2 separate regions of the Homo sapiens genome follow, and region 1 is linked to region 2. The links are contacts of gene promoters, found by promoter capture Hi-C in human tissues and cell types (Jung and others, 2019). All regions are on one chromosome and are shown on one strand. The core of a region is centred on a gene start or on the middle of the fragment in contact, and the rest is flanking DNA. Distances in the headings are between cores, read along the strand shown. Region 1 overlaps HRG-AS1 (HRG and FETUB antisense RNA 1). Region 2 holds the start of AHSG (alpha 2-HS glycoprotein).

Region 1 (2,700 bases), core at 156-2,655, 44 kb before region 2:
GGTTGAGGGATAGTGAGGGAGGTTGGAGAAGAGTGTAAAAAGAGGCTGTTCACGGGATTTGAAATTGGTGAGATGTTTCTTGGGCTGGTCAGCCTGAGGACCTGAGATCGTAGGTGGATCTTTCTCACGGAGCAAAGAACAGGAGGACTAGGGATTGATCTCCCAAGGGAGTTCCCCTGATCCGAGTCACGGCAGCAAATTTCATGTGTGTCCGTGTGAAGAGACCACCAAACAGGCTTTGTCTGAGCAATAAATCTTTTAATCACCTGGGTGCAGGTGGGCTGAGTCCAAAAAGAGTCAGTGAAGGGAGATGGGGTGGGGCCATTTTATAGGATTTAGGTACGTAAAGGAAAAAGAGGGGTTGTTCTCTGGCAGGCAGGAGTAGGGGTCACAAGGTGCTCAGTAGGGGAGCTTTTGAGCCAAGATGAGCCAGGAGAAGGAATTTCACAAGATAATGCTATCAGTTAAGGCAGGAACAGGCCATTTTCATTTCTTTTGTAGTGGAATGTCATCAGTTAAGCCAGGAACCGGCCATCTGGATGTGTATGTGCAGGTCTCAGGGGATATGATGGCTTAGCTTAGGCTCAGAGGCCTGACACTATCTGGGCAGACTGGGCAGGTAGAATCTTCATCTTTACCTTTTCTTTTCTTTCTTTTTTTTTTTTTGAGACAAAGTCTCACCTGCTCTGTTGCCTAGGTTGTTGTATAGTGGTGCCATCTCAGCTCACTGCTGTAACCTCCACCTCCCAGTTTCAAGCAATTCTTCTGTCTCATCCTCCTGAGTACTGGGACTACAGGTGCCCACCACCACGCCTGGCTAAAATTTGTACTTTTAGTAGAGACAAGGTTTCACCATATTGGTCAGGCTGATCTCGAACCCCTGACCTCAGGTGATCCACCCGCCTCAGCCTCCCATAGTGGTGTGATTATAGGAATGAGCCACTGCGCCCTGCCGTCTTCACATTTTCATTCTGCATTTAGGTTATTTCTGTGTGTCCTGACCATTGTATCAGAAAAAAGAGTTAGCTAACAGAATTTTTATTCTTTAAACCTTTTTGACTCATAATAGAACACATGCTTTTTGCAAAAAATATGGAAAATACGAAAAGCATAAAGAAAATTCACCTCTAATTCTACAACCATAAGGAAAACCAACTATTTATAATGCATAATTGCTTCATACACTTTTTGCTATTTGAATATATGTAATATATATGTTTTGCATCATTAGAATTATTCTGTACATACAGGTGTTTCTTTCCCTCCACTGTAGTTGAGCATGTATTTACTTATAACCTCTATTTTTTTCAGGTATTAATAGAAACCATATAAGCTTTATAAATGTTTTTGTGTTTTTATAGGATTTTAAAATTTTGTTATTTTAAGTATACAGTTTTTAGTCATAAACACAATCCCTGCACAAAGTAAAAAAGCAAACAATATTTTAGAATATTGTAAAATAAAAATTAAGTCTCTTTCCTCCATTCTTTACCTCCCAAACTCTTTCCCAAGAGAAGGACTTTTAAAAATCCCTTGTTATATATGGCTTAAATATTGTATTTTCCCTTAAGGTTATACCATGAGGACTTTCTCAGATCATTAAATATTCTTCAGAAAGATTATTTTTGAGGTTACATAATATTGGATGTTATGTACGTGTTAATGTATTCAACATTCCCCAATTTTTGGCCATGTATATTGTTTCCAATTATTTGTTCTTATAAGTAATGCTACAGTGGACCTCTTTGTAAATCTCTGACTATGTCTTTGAGAATCACTAGACTGGTTGACAGAATTTTATGACATTTAATTTTTTTGTAATAGGAGTCACTTTTTAAAGAAAATGCAGTTTTTATCAGGCTTAATGTATCCATTTTGTTAATTTACTTTAAAAATGGGCTTTAATTTTTAGAGCAGTTTTAGGTTGACAGTACAGCTGAGTGGCGAGTATAGAGTTCCTATGTAGTCCCTACATCTGCCCCTCACGCTCACAGCCTCCCCTGCTATAAACCTCTGAACACTAGCAGCACATTTGTTACAACCGATGAACTTACACTGACACATAGTTATAACCTAAAGTCCATGGCTTACATCAGCATGCATCCTTGATGTTGTACATCTATGGGTTTTGACAAATGTATAATGAAATGTATCCACCATTGTAGTAGCATACAGAATAGTTTCACTGACTAAAAATCCTCTGTGCTCCACATAGTCCATCCCTGTCTCCTTGCTAACCACTGGCAACCAGTGATCTTTTTACTGTCTTCATAATTTTGCCTTTTCCAAATGTCATATAGTTGGAACCATACAGTAGTTAATCTTTTCAGATTGGTTTCTTTCACTCAGTAATATGTATTTAAGTTTCCTCCATGTCTTTTTGTGGCTCGATATTCATATTCCTTTTTCGTGCCAAATAATATTCCATTGTCAGGATTTACTTATCCACTCACCTGGTGAAGGACAGTTTGTTGCTTCCAAATTTTAGCAATTATGAGCAGATGTGCTGTGAATATTCATGTGTGGGTTTTTCTATGGACATAAGTTTTCAGATCATTTGGGTAAATACCAAGGAGTGTGACTACTGGAGCATATGATAAGAGTATGTTAAGTTTTGAAAGTAACTGCCAAACTGTCTTCCAAAGTGGCTGTACCATTTGCATTCCCAGCAGCAATGAATGAGAAGTTCCTTTTGCTCCA
Region 2 (2,700 bases), core at 187-2,686:
TTTGTCTCTTTGTGAGACGGATGGCAGTCGTCAGTCGGTCCAGGCTTCCTGTTGTTGACCTTATTTTCCAACCTAGATTGTAAGCTCTTGTGGGCACATATTGTGCCTTTTTCACCACTGTATTAGGTTGAACCATTAAAACGGCCAATATTTGGTTGCTTTTGATATAGAAAAATGGCAGTTTTATATGGTTCAACCTAATATCTCTGGTTCTTGTCCAAGGAAGGCTTGTAATACATATTTGCTGAAAGAATTGTCCTTAATCAGAAATAAATCTAATTTCAAAACAGGCAGTAGGCAGACAGCTTCTTTCCACCTCTCCAAATCTCTTGACTGATCCCCGAGGCATATTTCCAGCTTGATTTTTCTTGTCACTGGCTTCAAGCTGCGTTGGTTTCCTGTCTAGTGTGTGAGGAGGTGAATTGTGTTTATGCCAAGACTTCTCTCTGGGATGTGGGTAACTCTCTTTGGGAGGCAGTTTGTGTAGAAGAAGGAACACAGATATGGAATCAAATCCCAGCCTGAAGACTTAGTAATTATATGATTTTGGACCAAAAAAAAAAAGACAAAAACAAAAAACAAAAAAACTGCACACACACACACAACAGAGCCTTGGTCTCCTCTTGGGTAAGACAAGAACAATATATGTACCACACAGCACCAGGAGGCAGGACCGGGAAAGAGTAAATGAGATAATCTATGTGAATGGGCCTGGCATATAGTAGGCATCTGCCAGATGCTAGTTTTATTCATTCTCAGTCTTTGTTAGAGAGAAACCAAACCAAAGACAGATACGTGATTTTCAGCCAGTGGTAACTTGGCAACTAGGAGCTGGTCTCTTGGGTCCTAGTTTTTCCAGCAAGTTACACTTTCTGTCTGTGATCTGCACACTACCATTTGAAGCACTTTTTCTCCTGCACACCACCTCACACCCCACCCAGCTCCCTCCTGACACCCATGACTGCCATACAGAATGTCTCCTCTCCTGCCCTCTGCCTGCCCCTTCCCTCACTCCTGGGAAGAAATCAGAGAATTTACTCCTCTGTGGTTTCATTTGCACTGGGTGATGGTGATTTTTTGAGGCACCTGATTGAGCTCCATGTACACATTATTTCAGCTCATAGACAGCAGGTCCACTTACCTGAGGCCACACCTTTACTTCATCAATCTGGTTCAAGGTGTGTTTGTATCCCCAAGGAAGGTTTTGATTGATGTAGTCTATAGCCACCAGAGCTGCTTCCTCAGTTTCTGGATCATCGCAGTTCGGTTGTCTATAAATCAGCCCTGGGCCATGTGGGGCTGAGTGGCAGCCCCAGAGCTGAGCAAGACAAAGGAGCAGGACGAGGGACTTCATGGCTGCCCCAGAGAGGCCCTGGCAGGCGTGCAGGTGGTTGGAGGCTTCGGGACCAACCCAGGTGCTCTGCTGGGAAAGGTAGACCCATGGAGGGTGGTGGGCTTTATTTATCTGTTGGAGCCTGCCGGAAGAATTGCATAAGGATACAGGATGATTTCTGCTTTGGTTCAAAAGAAAAAAAAAAACACCCTGCAAACATCAGCCCTGGAAAAGCAAACAGGTTAGGACATCGCTGGTCCCCAAGAAATCTGCCAAAGTCCATGCTGCTGTGGGGGAGATGCTCCAAAGTCTGCTTGGAACATGGTAATAGCAGCAAAGAGAAGACAGCTGAGGGAATGAGGTGGACACAGTCAGCCTCAGAGTGCCATGGGTTTGGCAGCAGAGGAAATGTCTTCTACTGTGATCTGAGCATGCCATGGGGTCTGTGAGAGGGAAGGGAGGATACTCAGCAATTTGATAAAATTCTCCAATGTCAGGGGGAGTTAGCTTTCCAAGAGGAGTCCTACAGGGAGAACAAGGCCCACAGATATAGCAAAGGTACAGATGTGTATAGGAGATGCCAAGATTTTGGGGGAAGATTCTTGGAGAAAAGAAAAAGGATGAGAGATGTTTCTGCCTAAAGTGGGGAATGGAGGTGGAAGAAGGGGGTTCCCGTGGCAGGACCACGGTGGGAAATGACCAGCAAAACGTGTGGGGTTCCCTGCCCCTTCTCTTCCTTCTCCAGACCTCACTGCCAGGGCCCTGCATGTGACAGCACAGATGGGCACTGACCAGAGTCTCCTAGCACTAGTAACCTAGTGCCCCTGCCAGTGCACAAGGGCAGCAGAGGGGAGTCCTGACTCATTTGACACAGCTCTGGGTTCGAGTCTGACACCGCAGGCTGAGATGCTGCACGAGCAGCTACGGACACAAATACCCCTTGAACATTCTTTGCAGACTCAGCAGAATTACAGTGTGTCTTTCTGGCCAGAACAGAGGGCCAGTGTTGACTCCAGGCACTGCCTATTAAGTGACCCTTGACAATTCCAAGTGTGACATCCAAGGAGGGTTGGCAGGATAAAGAGAGGCTTGGGAAATATCACACAAGGACCTGGTTTGGTTTAGTCTGAAGCAAAGAAGCCCTCTCATGGAGACCAACATGGTCTTCAAATATTTAGAGGCCATCATTGTGTGTGGGTGAATTTGTTCTAATGTTTGATATTGCTTCAGAGAAAAAAAAACTGGTTAAAAAAAAAAGAAAGAAGAGGGGCCCCTCCAAAGGGAAGCTTAATATTGATTTTCTGGGGTGAGAATCGGGGTGAGGGAGGTGAAGTGAGTGGTGATGGGGCAGAGAAGGTAGTTGGCAG

The links. The method cuts DNA at HindIII sites, captures the fragments that hold promoters and counts their contacts. A contact is called where the count stands out against the background at its distance.
Region 1: a fragment that was not itself captured here is called in contact with the fragment with the promoter of AHSG in region 2 in 2 of the 25 tissues and cell types used here (liver and ovary).

Annotation. Positions count from the first base shown.
Region 1 is chr3:186,655,672-186,658,371 of GRCh38, reverse strand. All of the region lies in intron 1 of HRG-AS1 (HRG and FETUB antisense RNA 1), which reads left to right. Among named protein-coding and RNA genes, the nearest start is that of HRG-AS1, 8.6 kb to the left of the region's middle. RefSeq lists an enhancer at 226-745. The HindIII fragment of the contact is 4,825 bases long and covers 1-2,700 here.
Region 2 is chr3:186,611,796-186,614,495 of GRCh38, reverse strand. AHSG (alpha 2-HS glycoprotein) reads right to left here and starts at 1,436. Exons shown (of 7, transcript NM_001622.4): 1 at 1,142-1,436. The coding sequence starts at 1,354. The HindIII fragment of the contact is 10,895 bases long and covers 1-2,700 here.